Linked DNA regions of Homo sapiens: regions 1, 2, 3 and 4 are each linked to region 5. The links are contacts of gene promoters, found by promoter capture Hi-C in blood cells and fetal thymus (Javierre and others, 2016). All regions are on one chromosome and are shown on one strand. The core of a region is centred on a gene start or on the middle of the fragment in contact, and the rest is flanking DNA. Distances in the headings are between cores, read along the strand shown.

Region 1 (2,700 bases), core at 156-2,655, 74 kb after region 5:
TTTCTTTTTTTTAAAATTTGAATGTCAGTGTCTTTAAAAAGGGCACAAACTCTCCAGGTCACTGTTAATCCCTAAATCCACCCTTCACAGGCAGCCCATTTGGCTTATTCTGTGTTACCTAACACCACTGTGGGCTTCTGACCTTTCAACCTCTGGTGAGTGAAAAATTCTCAGTTAACAGCCTCAGAGCCAGCTTTAGATCCTGACGTTCCAGGGCCCTTGGAGAAGAAAAGGTGGATCAAAGAGTAACCAATAGCTCAGTCTATGAGCTATTGGTTTAAAATGAGATTTAAAAATCCAATGAAGCCACTCCTGGGCCTCCTGGTTCTGCATTTTCTGTGGATGCCTGCACCTGGTGGGCGCTCTGAAGACCACTTACAGGGTGGGACAACTGCCGAATTGCAAACCCCATGAGGTTCTGCTTGGAGTTTATGTCAACATAGATCTTGTCTTTTCTCAGCCTGTTTCCATCAAAGCAATGCTTAATTGGGGGCTGATCTGGGATCTGGGAAAGAAGGGGAGAGGGCAGTCATTCTTTCACTGGATGCATTTAATTTTACTCCACCTAACAAGTTCAAAATGCCCTGGAGTTTCATTCTTCCTTCCCTTCCTCCTCACACTTTTCCATCCTTTCCCTTCTTTGACTCCCAAACCCAAATGGGGTATAAGTGGAGCAGATAGGGGTTGGGTAGGGGTGAGAAACATTGTAGATCTTTATTTTATTCACCTCAAGCCCCACATTAAATCCCACATCCGTGTTTGCTAAAACATATAAGGTTCTGCAACCCCGGTCATGTCCTTGGAGACCATTTAAAGTCATAAAATAAGCAATGTGTACTTTTTTGGAATGGTCAGTCATTTAAAACTATCATAGAACCAGCAAATGCACTATGAAACAGAAAGCAACATTCACTTTTTAAAAAGCTGAAACACAGGATTATAAAGACATTTGATGCTTTTTGCAGGTTTCTTTCAAATAGTTCCCTGTATCTCAGGGGATAGCTTTCAACTCTCCTTTGCTATTAGGAATATTTGGGTGAAAGTTTGAGAAACCGTGTGAAATTCTGGCAAATCTTTTTAGAAAAGTCTGCTTTTGTATCTGAGAGGAGTATTTTCTTATTTCGGGTGTTCATGGAATAAGGAATCATGTAGCCCTTGGCTGGACACTTAAATGTGTTCCTGGACTTGCCAAAAAGACTTGGGTTGAGTCACTGGACTTGACTTCAAATTCCCATTCAGAGACCACTGGGACTGTAAAACCTTTTGCTGCTGAGTCCATTTCTTGTAACTGGCTCCACATATTTAAGAATAAATAATTCAGCTCTGTTAGTGATGGTTTTGGGATCCCCCTCTACAGCCCCAGCACAGTTATCCTGGTTTGTAGGAGCAGCACCCAGCATTCACATTTTCTCTGTTCTGCATTTGTTGGAAAGTAAATAAGCAGCAGTAAAGAAGCTGTATTGTGCATGTTTTCTGCCTTGGGTGGCACCTGGAATTTGCTGAATTTGCTGAGTGCAACTTTAAAAGGCTCCTGAGCCGCACCTTTTTCATGCCATGCAAGTCAAATGGAAAACCAAATAATCAGCATAAGCAAGCTGTGAGTCCTTTCTCTTGGTCTCAACGGACTCCAGACCCTGTTGTGGAATTCCAGTGCTTCTTTTCTCCCCTCTTCCAGCTGTTAAGTCTCCATGACTGGACTTAAACAACCATCTCCTCTCCCCCTCTCAGAGAATCAATCACTGATTTTGCATAATACTTAGGACATTGTGGTACAAAAAAAAAAAAAAATTGAGGGCCCCCCAAAAACCCAAAAACAAACAGAAACCCGCCCATCTCCACTGATTTTCTAGGATGTCTCGTTTATTTTATGTCAGTCTCACTAGAACTTAAAAATTACTTTTAAAGTAATAAAGCTGATTTTCACATGCCTTGTATAGACTTTCACTAATGCCAAGCAAAGGCATTTTGCCCAGATTGCTTTCCCCAGCTCATATACAGAGTTGAAAGCAGGGAATGGGGTGAAGTGGAATGGAGGAAGAACAGATGTAAATACTAAGCATATTGCAGGTTCAGTGACTCGCCCCAGAATGGGACCCTGTCTTAGATCCTACAAATTCCTGTTCAATCCTTCTAGGCAAGATGCTTAATTATTGTTATGTGTAGGGAAGAAAATTGTTAGCAGCAGAAGGTATCCGAGTCACGTGGCACCAAAATGTATCACTAGTAGCGAATATCCAAGTTACCTTAATAGAATCCGTATGGGTCTGCAGCAACCTCAATTCCTACATCCTCAGAAGAAAGAATTCAACTCAGGGTCATACGGCAGAAAAAGAGACTGAGGCAAGTTTCAGAGCGTTTATTAAAACGCTTTAGAGCAGGAACATAAGGCAAGTGATACTGGAGACAGAAATTATTTTAAGCAGATAATGAGGGCAAAAGAGTCCTCGGCAGAACTTCCCTGCTAACAAAGAACAGCCCAAGAAATCCCTTCTTTTCTAACAAAGAGCAGCCTGGGAGATCGGGCTGCAAACATAGATAAGGAAGCTGGAAACTTGCACGAGGGGATGCCAGAAGCTGCACAGTTAGAAAGAGGTACCTGGGGCCAGGAATGTCCACCCTGGGGGCTCCACCTCCCCTCTATTTTTAGCACATGCACAGTAAGAAGGAAATAAGCGGCCGGGCCCGGTGGCTCACGCCTGT
Region 2 (2,700 bases), core at 55-2,554, 86 kb before region 5:
TCATATGCTGCTGGTGAGAATGTAAAATGGTACAGTCACTCTGGAAAATAGTTTGGCAGTTTCTAAAACAATGGAACATACAATGGCTATATGACTCAGCAATTTCACTTCTAGGCACTTATTCTAGAGAAGGATGATTTATGTTTACACAAAAATATGTACATACTGGTCAGGCACAGTGCTACGATCCCAGCACTTTCGGAGGCCAAGGCAGGAGAACTGTTTGAGGCCAGGAGCTCAAGACCAGCCTAGGCAACATAATGAGACCCCATCTCTATAAAAAATTTAAAAAAGCATCTGTACGTGAATGTTTACAGCAGTTTTATTCATAATGCCCCCAACCTGGAAATAATTCAGATGTCCTTAGACAGTGAATAGCTAAATAAACTATGATACAGTACATATAACCTGATGGAATACTACTCACCAATAAAAAGGAATGAAGTACTAATACATGCAACAGTCTTAATGAATCTCTAGACAATTATGCTCAGTGGGGTTGGGGAACACCAATCATGAATGGTTATATACTCTATGATTCCATTGATACAACATTCTTGAAATGACAAAACTATAGAAATGGAGAACATATTAGTGGTTGCCAGTGATGAAGAAGTAGGTGGAGGAAAGGGGAAGAAAATATGTGGAATCTTTGTGATAACAGGCATTTTTTGTATCTTGACTTTGTCAGTGTCAATATTCTGGTTGTGATACTGTACTACAGTTTTGTAAGATGTTACCACTGGGAGGAACTGGGTAAGGGGTACATAGGAACTCCATATTATTTCTTGCAACTGCATGTGAATTTACAATGATTTCCAAAATAAAATTTAATTTTCAAATGGGAAGCTTCAGGGGTGACTTGCAAATTGGTAAAGAGAGTAAGCAAAAGCAAAACAAAATAAATGAACAAAAACCAAACTTGGGTCGGGCGCGGTGGCTCACACCTGTAATCCTAGCACTTTGGGAGGCCGAGGCGGGTGGATCACCTGAGGTACCTGAGGTCAGGAGTTTGAGACCAGCCTGACCAACATGGTGAAACCTCGACTCTACTAAAAATACAAAATTAGCTGAGCATGGTGGCACATGCCTGTAATCCTAGCTACTTGGGAGGCTGAGGCAGGAGAATCACTTGAACCCGGGAGGCGGAGGTTGCAGTGAGCCGAGATCATGCCATTGCACTCCAGCCTGGGCAACAAGAGTGAAACTGTGTCTCAGAAAACAAACAAACAAACAAAAAACAAAAAACAAAACCGAACTCTTATGCAAACACAGATCTTTAAGGATAGAAGAGCCCTTAATTATCAGTGGGTTTGACCTCTGAATCTGAAGTTAGGAAAGGGCGGCCCAGAGATGAAGTGACTTGCCCAAGGATAAAGCTGGGCCTCTAACCCCCAAACAGGCTTGTTCTCAGACACCCAGCCTGCAGACCACAGCAAACAGGTGCTGCTTCTCTAGAACTGCTGATTAAGGTCCAGTAATACATTTGTGAGTGTGGCCAAGAGATTTCAAGCACCTTTTAAAACTGTGCAATCACCTGCAAAGCAAGGAAGGATTGCAGGAGTTATTTCCTAATATTTCACTTGGAATATTCAAATGCTTCTCTGCACCTAATAAAACTACTGTCCCAAAGACAAGAGGATCCTAATTTTCAAAGGTTACATTCAAAATGCATCAGTGCAAACACGGAATGAAGCTATTATTTATGTCACCAGCATTACATACACTGGAGAGCCAAGGCAATGGCAAACATTTGCAGGAAGCTTTGCAGTTTACTAACATTATTTCATTTGATTGCAGCAACAGTTCTGTGTGATGTGGGAATTAATGCCGTTTCCATTTTACAGATAAGGCAACTACCCCCTCACTAAAGTGACCAGACAACTCGAAGTCAGGAACTAGCAAACCGCAGAACGAGGGCTCCTACCTAGATTTTCTATCCTCAGTTACTGCTGCCTTTTCCTTGTATCATTGTGATATCTCTTCTCCTAGGCCTAGGGATGAGGTAGCGCCTAAATCGTTACAAAGCTAACTCCATCCCAGATATAAATTCCAGTCTCTAGATGCAAGTTAGGCCTAACTCCTTACCACCCTCCTCAAGAGCTTCTCTGCACCATCACATCATTTTGTACAAGATGCTGTTATTGTGGCTTACTGAACTATAATTGTTTACCTGTCATAGACTAATATTTGTATCCCCTACAACAGATGGCTATAAAATTGACTTAAATTTGTAAAAGTTGCCCCTCTTGTCATCTACACACATTGGGCTGTATGTACGAAGTCATGACTTCATGACTTCTAAGAAATTTAAAAGGCTTTTCATTTAGACCTTTGGAAGTTCCTCCAAGGCACTGGGGCAAGCAGGTATGTGTCAGCAGAGAAAAGGAAGTGGCTCTTCAGGATCTAAGAGAAGTGGAAAAAATAGCTTCACAACTTTTCTGGCAAAATGTGCAGTAACACTGAGGTTTATTCAGTTGCCTGTCATAGTAACTTATGAACCTAATTACACTGTAATGCACATCTGCCTTTCTTCAACTACTCAATACTTTGGTGTTGAATATGTTTGGCTTAAAATAAGTTTGGACTGAAGAAAAATAATGAGAAATGATAATCAATAGTACTAGTTCCTTGTCAGACTACTGATTTTCACAACCTTTAACTGAGTTATCATCATGCTAGTAGATGTGGGTGAAATAT
Region 3 (2,700 bases), core at 85-2,584, 96 kb after region 5:
GCTATACAAAAGAGCTGTTGTTAAATTTATAAAGATATAAAAAGGGGAAAGGGGAAGGCACCAAATGGAAGATTCTTAGGCATTAAGTGCTCAGACAGCATAGATCTTCATTAGATGACGTCAGGGAGAAGAGACACAGACTTTGCCATCTCAGGTAGAAGTATCAAAGTCATCAGCCTCCTAGTAAGACAGACCTGGGTTTGAAGCTCTGCACAGCCATTTCCTAGCTGGTCTGGGGAAAAATTACTTCTTGAAGCCTCAGTGTCTTTATTTGTAAAGTAAGTGGAATTATATTACCTTGTCAGGATGTTGTCAGAATTAGAAATAATTTAAAGAGGTCCAGCACGAGCAGGTCAATCAAGGGAAGATGTTAAAAATAACAACAGGTGAAATGTACTCCCAAAAGATAAAGTGGATACATAGATGAATCTTCCTCACACACAGAGTATAATAACCTCAGAAAAATATTGCCTAGAGTAAACATGCCTCCCAAGCCAACGTTCATCATCCAGGAATACGGAGAGGATGTTTGGGATATGGGGGGCATGAAATTTTACAATTGTAGGGCCCTTTAACAAGGGTAGACTTGCAAGTTGCACTGCCTTTCCTGCCCTCTCTGGCTACCTGTTCCAGCATCCAGAGTTTGTGAACCTGGGGCCCAAGGACAGCACCTGGCATGGGCAGGCCCACTTGGCGACTCTCTCAGGGCTGCTGCAGCTGTGTCAGTGTCCCCACAGGGAGGCTGACATCCAGCCATGACCATCGCATTAAGCCCAGCAGTCGGGCAGGGGAGCAACTGCTCAGAGGCACCTTTGACCCACTACTTTTTTCCCCTCCTGCTTTATCTGCCCAGAGCGAGGCTCTCTTTCTAATGTGTACAAGGCGTTCTACCTATGACTCGTGGTCCTGCCATAGAAATGCTTTTTTTTTTTTAACTGAATTAAGTTGCCAAGTTTGAAAAATCAGGAATTTCACATAAGCATCCCTATTTCTGTCTTCTTTTGAAAAACTGAATGTTCTTTCCACAGTGAGCCCACATTCCTTCCTGACGACCATCACCGTTCAGCTGGAGTAGAGAGGGCTCTGCTCGCTTCAGATCCGGACGCGCAGGTCCTCTGCAGGCCCCGCCCACCCGGCGTCACCTGCAGGTCCCGCCCACCCGGCGTCTGCAGGCCCCGCCCACCCGGCGTCACCTGCAGGCCCCGCCCACCCGGCGTCTGCAGGCCCCGCCCACCCGGCGTCACCTGCAGGCCCCGCCCACCCGGCGTCTGCAGGCCCCGCCCACCCGGCGTCACCTGCAGGCCCCGCCCACCCGGCGTCTGCAGGCCCCGCCCACCCTGCGTCACCTGCAGGCCCGGGCCGCGGGGTTGGTTTCCACCCTGGAGGTTGCTGACACCCTGTGCCCTCGGCTGACTTCCAGCCGGTGGCACAGACGCCTCCAGGGGGCAGCACTCAAGCGCATCTTAGGAATGACAGGTGAGAACATCCTCCGGGCCCCAGATTTCTCTCCTCGCCGCTCTTGCCCATTTCTCCGGAGAGCCAGAGAAAGCCGCTCCCAAGTCCAAGGCCGAGCTCCGCAGACGCCCGGCCCCTCCGGCGCGGACAGAACAAAGCCACTGTTCTTGCCGGGGAAGGTAGAAATACTGTGGGCTGCTTCAGAGGCTGCCAGCAAAACTCAGGCAATCTCCTGGGCTGTTCCAATACGTTTATTCTCTTTTTCAAAACAGGAGGAGGAGGTAGAGGCGGGGAGACACACCATCCCTGCAAAACTACTGGCAAAAACTAAGCGGAGCCGGGTGTGGTGGCTCACGCCTGTAATCTCAACACTTTGGGAGGCCGAGGGGGGCCGATCACTTGAGGTCAGGAGTTGGAGGCCAGCCTGGCCGGCATGGTGAAACACAAAAATTAGTCGATTGTGGTGGTGCATGCTTGTAATCCCATCTACTTGGGAGGCTGAGGCAGGAGAATCGCTTGAACCCGGGAGGCGGAGGTTGCAGTGAGCCGAGATTGCGCCACTGCACTCCAGCCTGGACAACACAGTGAGATTCTGTCTCAAAATAAATAAATAAATAAACCCAAGCAGAAAAAGAATCACTCTGAAAACGATCACATCTAACTATCAATGCTCATACAGTTTATGGAATTATCAGCCCAACTTGATAAAATCAGTATTTGAGGAAACTGTGGATAAGCCCCCTGATTTCAATCCCCATTGTGCCAGGTCCTGGTTAACTGAGGTTAACGAAGTAAAGAGCTGCAGACACTATTAACTGCTACCTTAAACCGATTACTCTAGCTTAGCCTACTTTCCACGTACAGATTTTACCAGTGGACAACATGATGCTTTATCTTGTTTTTCTCTCCCTGGGACTTTTCTCCAGACATTGAAAACAGAAATACTAATAAGGCCACTTTTACCTGCCTGATGCAAGAACAGAATTTTCAAACTCAACATTAATGCAACTCCTCAGTCCCTGACAATGGCGGGTGGAAAAGTTTCTAAAAATATGCAGCAGCACAATTATCGGGAAGAGATGAGATACTGTTACCTAATAAAAATGCCATAAATAGAGAATGATGAACTACCATGGGAAATGAATGCATAGAAGAGGACATGCTGGAATGTGGGACAGTAAAAATCACTTAAACTTTGCGTGACCTTGAAGAAAGTCACGATGATCTGTTTTTCCAGGTCCCTCA
Region 4 (2,700 bases), core at 151-2,650, 100 kb before region 5:
GCCACACTTGGATGATTAAATGCAAGAGGCCAAAAGCTTGAGTCAAAACCCACTCTCCACCTTTGCCTGTGTTCTCAATGTTGGACTGCACTGAGGGCAGGTTGGAGAGGCCAGCCTGGGTGATGTACACCACCCAGGTCCCACGAATGCATCTCCTACCACCATCTGTCAAGTGACCTGGAATGCCCAGTCAGCTCTGGAACCAGATCTTGGATGGACCTTGTTGCTTTGTTGAGTTTGTGTCTACTTTCCCTGGATCCTTCCTTAGTTCTGTGTATCTATAGAAAGACAAGGAGATTTCCTGTCCTTCTGATTTGTACAGTATGTCCTCCAAGTTCTTTCCCTCTTATCCGTGGCTTCTATCATCCATTCAGACTTTGTTTGCAGGCAGGTTTGTCCTCTGAGGCCACCACCCCTACTTTTGAACATCAACCTTAGTCAATGACATTCCCTAAGCAGTAGGTTCCAAGCATTTTGAACATACACCCCCACCCCATGCTCTATTTTATTCATTATTTATTTGGGACCTAATAAATTATCTACACAGGCCATTATCATTACTTAATAGTCCAAGGCGCAAAATATACTTTGAGTGTAAGATATATGATAACAATTATAGATGTAGATTTTTCATCCCTGTGTCCTAGTTAGATTTTTATAATTTTGAAGGGTTTTTTGTTTCTTTGTTTTGGCCAGCTGCTTGGCACATCAGATCATCAGTCTTTCTTTCTTGTAATGGTGTCTGGCAAAGAGCTTTTGGGAAGGGGAGCAGAAGTGCTACCTTTGCTGTTTTTGTCAGTTTGGTTTTTTGGGTGGCCTGTGTTATTAGTCTATCTTTAACCCATGGTTTCTTCAGAGGAGGCTTTTTAAGCCATGTGTCCATCTTGTGAAGGTTAAAGCTAGATAATACCTCACTGATAAGTCCATTTAACCCGGTACAAGTATCCAGGTCCACTAGACTCTCTGCCCTTGAATTTGAGAACTTGTAGAAAAGGCCAAAGATTGGCCCATTCAGTTAGGGTTAAAATCGTGTCACCCAGCCAGGAAAAAATGTAAAGGATTTTGGAGCTGCCAGAGAAGGATAGTTTCACAGTTGATTCCATATCTACACCATTTCTAGTTTAGAGAACTTTTTAAAAAGGGAAGGGAAGTTACAGATACAAAATATGTCCAAATGTCTTAAATACTTACACAGGTCCATGGCCCAGGTCTATGACCTAACTTTCTATGTTACCAAAAAAACACAAAAAAACAGCAAAAAGCAGAACATGTCTTCATGCATCTTTGCCTCACAGGCACTTTCAAGAAAGCATCGAAACTATGAGAAACTGGAGAAGAATATGTTGTGTCTCTTCCCATTAGTCCACACTGCTTCTTATTCAGCAGAAATATTATCTGCAGTCTTAATACCTTCAGTAAATGGATTTTGTCACCCCATAGTAGGTTTGAAAAAATTAGAGCCCTTATATACCTTTTTAATATCAAGGGTCACAATTTCTAGTTTCAGAAGAATTTTGTGACTTTATCCAAGAAAAGCAACCACCATCAAGATGAAAGGAACCAGCAGCAAATTCCCCTTTCCAACCACTTCTATGGTAAAAACACAAGATCAGCGCATTTCTCCAATGTTGCCAGGCAAGGATTTTCTGGAGCTGCTTCTCCAATGCTTGAAAACAATCGGCTCTTTTGAATGTGGTCCCCTCTCCAGGTCTGAGCCTCCCTCTGAAGGAAAGAAGCAGCTCTGTACACTCAGCGGTCCCTGATGCAGGCAACTGACTGTCAGTGGGCCAGTCACAGGGAAATCTCACAGATGGGAAAAGCAAATTCACACTGCAGAAGAATTAGAAGAGTCTGCTTATAATGTGGGACTATCTGACTTAGTGATGTCTATAATGAACTTCAAAGAAGTCAACAATTATATAAAGAACAAGAAGCAAACTGACATTGAAGCCAACTGAAGACATGTACTGAGGAACTCCAAAATCTCCGGGCTTTTCTGGGGAGGGGAAATGTGAGCTGACAGCTTTGACCTCACGTTCCACATGCTGCTTCTTTTTGTGCTTCTTGGAGATGTTTATATATTGATTCTAAGTGTCCATGGACTTAAATAATACAAGAAGGAAAGAGGGAATTAAAAGCAGGTCTATATGTAGTATCCAGATCTAAATCCTAACCTAAACACATCCAAATTCCTCTGATCTTGTTACCCATGTAATACAACAGAGTAGGTCCAAATAGTGCAAAGCATTTTGGGACCACCCATGTACACTGGGCTACTCTGTCAGCAGCTCAAGGAACTGTTTAAAAAGCAAAGGAACCAAAAACAACACAAAAAAACCCCAATCTGAAACACTATCCAAAAAACGCACAGCGGTGTCTGAAGTTGAGATTTTTCTGCTACGTGGGTCTCAGGCTAAGCGTAAGATGCTATTGATGGAATGAACTTCAGACTACTGGAATGGGCACCACCAGCACCACAGACCTTGTGTGTGTGGCAAGGGCCAGGAAAGCAGGCCAGACGAGAGGCTTTTTGGAAGGGTTCTCATCACTGTGTAGCGCGCAGCTCTGTGCCCCTGCCCAGCCACTCCCTGATAGCTGGAATCCTTCCTTGTCAAACCAGCTCCAAGAGCAGGCCACACTCTGCTGTTTCCTACCGTGTCATTCACTAATGTATTCATTTAGCAAATATTTATTGACCTC
Region 5 (2,700 bases), core at 121-2,620:
TGGACACCTAACGCCCTTGGAAAGGGAGTGAATTGGTAGGATATCATCGCTCCGGTTAGTTCCGCGGGAGCTGCCCTTCAGAAAAAAAACTTTCCAGAGCCAAAAGTTACTTTCCAAGCGCCTTGGGGCTTCCCGGGCGCCTCCCTCGGACGGCAACCCTAGAAGTCAAAGCGATTGCATCGCCAGGTCTGTGGCGGCTGGAAGCGGGGTGACCGCGGTCAGATGGCATTTCGCACCCACGCAGGGCTGTGTTATCCTAGCACAGAACCAGCAACTCTCACACGAAGCCTTGTGTAAACACCACGCGGGCCCATTCCTGAACGACTCTTTGATGCCTCCGCTGCGGTTACTTATCTCATACATAAATCAGGATTCCGCTGACAAATCTCCGTGTTTCCACTAAACAGAAGGCTGCCCTGCAGTCCTTCTCGTGCTTCTTTCTAAAGTACGATAACATCTGACACTTCCATAAACCGGCCTGCAGAGGACACCGCGCAGGGGGCGACTAACCAGCTGAGGTGTGTCACCCCAAAACACCAGTGGGCACACCCCAAGGCGGGCACGTGGAAGGGACGCGGAACCGAGGGCAACTATTTTCCAGTCGGTGAATCTGATGGAGAAAGATGCCAAATGCACTTCCCGAGCCAGCTGAACTCCTCGGGCACCTAATCATTGCCAGATGTGGCGAGGGCGCACGGAGAACATCCCCAGTCCCGGAGAAAACACCCGGCCGCCAGCGCGGGGACCGCTCGGGCCGGGAAACGGCTAGAGGCGGGAGGAGAGAGGACTGGGCGAGCGTGGGGAGCGCTGCGGCGTGGAAAAGCGACCGGGAGGGATGGCGATGCCTCCACTCTCCTCGGCAGGTTTTTTCAATTAAAAAGTTGGAAACGGGAATCCGTAAACAACGACTTAGGGCTTCAAACTACTTGCAAAGACGCGATGGGGAGGGGAATACTTGCGCGCTTCAAAACCCCAACCTCGAGGTCTCCAGCCGCGCCTGACCCGGGAGCCGGGTGCGCCCCCAGTGTCCGCGCACGAACCCGGCGCCCTGGCAGCCCCGACTCCCCGGGCCCGCAGCCCAAGGGAAGGTTCGCGCGGGAGGCACCTCCGTGGCCTCCCGCGCGCCCCGAAGCCCGTTCCCCCCGCCCAGAGCCCCGCGGAGCTGCCGCCGCCCTACCTTTCATGGTGACCGTGGGGACGCACCGCCGGCCGGGGAGCTCCGCGCGAGCGCCGCGCAGCCGAGGAAGTCGTCCCGAGCGGCTGCTCACCGCACGCCCATGGTAGCCGCGCCGCGCGCCGGCCGTCTGCGCCCCCGTCCTCCCTCGCCGCCGCCGGCCCGCGCTCCCCGCGCTCCCGGCTCCGCGCTCTGCTGCCTCGGGGCTGCCGCGCGCGCCGCTCTCGCTCTCCCAGCGCCCCTCCCCCTGGCCCGACCCGGCCGAGCGAGCGGCCGCGCCCACGCCCCTCTCGCGCCCTCCCGCGCCCGCCCCGCCCTCGGCCCGCGCCTGCCCTCGCCGGGCACTTTCTCGCCCGCCCTCTCCTGCGCGCCCTGGCCCCACTCGCGCGGGCTCTCTCTTTTTCCCGTTGCACCAGCGTCGGGATGAAGTCGGGAGCAAAGCCCTTCCCGGGGCGGTCCAGCGTTCACCTTCGGCGAGCACCTAAGGTGCCGCTGCTGCTGGGGTCGCTTCTACACCCCAAACTACCTAGCAAGTGTTGGGCGAGAGGATGGGGAGCTGCTGTGCCCCGGGGGTGGCGGGGGGTAAGGTGGGCCCTTCCCCAAACGGCTCTGGGGCATGGAGAGGTACAGAACGTCCTCCGGGTTCAGAGTTTCCAAGTGCGTGCGCTGGTTGACGCCTGAAGGAGACCAAGCAGCAGGGAACACTCTCTCTGTCACCCAGGGAGAGCCCGAGTGGCCAGAATCCGAAGTCACCATTAGACACTCTCTCTGCGCTCTTGGACACCTCCAGAGAAAAAGCCAGCACATCCTGCCTTGGCTGGAAAAGCCAGCCTTCCACCCAGCGCCCCTAAAATGATCGGGTTGACTCCAGTTTTGTTACGAAAGGAGGCCGGGCTGCTGAGAGGCTCCCTGAGTTCCCTTCGTGGTCGCCCGTCACATTGCCCTGCTGTATACTTAATAAAGCCCGTGTTTATCTTTCTCTTTAGAACCCCCTCTAAGCAGACCCATCGCTTTATTGCTTTAAAACATACACTAAGTGGTGAGTGGAGCTGGGGCGAGGGAGGTGCGGAGAAACTTTCTGCCACATGTTGACATTACAGATGGCTACTCAGACGCACTAGTCCACCAAAAGCAATCGAACACTGGCCGGGCAGTGCTTGCAGCTTTTCAGTTTGCCCTCCTGAGGACTTGGTAACACGGTGTAACCAATCCATTGGTTCCCTCTAAGTAGGGGATTCTTTGCTCTAGTAAAAGGTAGTGCCCCAAAATGAATACATATTGAAACATTTCATAGATTCTCCGTTCCAGGAGATTTCTTTTTTCTTTCTTTTTTTTTTTTTTTAATTTTTTAACATAAGGGGGCACCTTGAACATGACGAACAAATGAAAAGACCGAAATGCTTTTTCCCCCGCACTGTCTGCAGTTGATGAAACTACAGGGTCCTGGTCCTGGAGCATGTTTCAGATCTCACTGGGGCACCAGCCTTGTCTTTCAGGGCAAATGGGGATCCCTGAAGGGAGCTTAG

What was found. Contacts are between HindIII fragments. The CHiCAGO score rates a contact against its expected background, and 5 or more counts as called.
Region 1: a contact is called between a fragment that was not itself captured here and the fragment with the promoter of COLEC12 in region 5, in 3 of 17 cell types (M2 macrophages, M1 macrophages and M0 macrophages). The highest score is 7.3, in M2 macrophages.
Region 2: a contact is called between a fragment that was not itself captured here and the fragment with the promoter of COLEC12 in region 5, in 4 of 17 cell types (M2 macrophages, M1 macrophages, M0 macrophages and 1 more). The highest score is 10.1, in M2 macrophages.
Region 3: the fragment with the promoter of CLUL1 here is called in contact with the fragment with the promoter of COLEC12 in region 5 in 4 of 17 cell types (M1 macrophages, M2 macrophages, M0 macrophages and 1 more); the score reaches 11.8 in M1 macrophages.
Region 4: a fragment that was not itself captured here is called in contact with the fragment with the promoter of COLEC12 in region 5 in 4 of 17 cell types (M1 macrophages, M2 macrophages, M0 macrophages and 1 more); the score reaches 11.0 in M1 macrophages.

The regions. Positions count from the first base shown.
Region 1 is chr18:573,465-576,164 of GRCh38, forward strand. No RefSeq gene overlaps it. Among named protein-coding and RNA genes, the nearest start is that of CETN1, 5.6 kb to the right of the region's middle. The HindIII fragment of the contact is 5,186 bases long and covers 1-2,700 here.
Region 2 is chr18:413,383-416,082 of GRCh38, forward strand. All of the region lies in intron 2 of COLEC12 (collectin subfamily member 12), which reads right to left. Among named protein-coding and RNA genes, the nearest start is that of COLEC12, 86 kb to the right of the region's middle. The HindIII fragment of the contact is 914 bases long and covers 848-1,761 here.
Region 3 is chr18:595,654-598,353 of GRCh38, forward strand. CLUL1 (clusterin like 1) reads left to right here and starts at 1,335. Exons shown (of 10, transcript NM_001393344.1): 1 at 1,335-1,476. RefSeq lists silencers at 1,084-1,213, 1,274-1,393 and an enhancer at 1,816-2,315. The HindIII fragment of the contact is 7,229 bases long and covers 1-2,700 here.
Region 4 is chr18:396,826-399,525 of GRCh38, forward strand. All of the region lies in intron 2 of COLEC12 (collectin subfamily member 12), which reads right to left. The region is part of intron 1 of LOC107985155 (a long non-coding RNA gene); the gene reads left to right. Among named protein-coding and RNA genes, the nearest start is that of COLEC12, 100 kb to the right of the region's middle. The HindIII fragment of the contact is 2,733 bases long and covers 35-2,700 here.
Region 5 is chr18:499,331-502,030 of GRCh38, forward strand. COLEC12 (collectin subfamily member 12) reads right to left here and starts at 1,371. Exons shown (of 10, transcript NM_130386.3): 1 at 1,178-1,371. The coding sequence starts at 1,184. The HindIII fragment of the contact is 13,067 bases long and covers 1-2,700 here.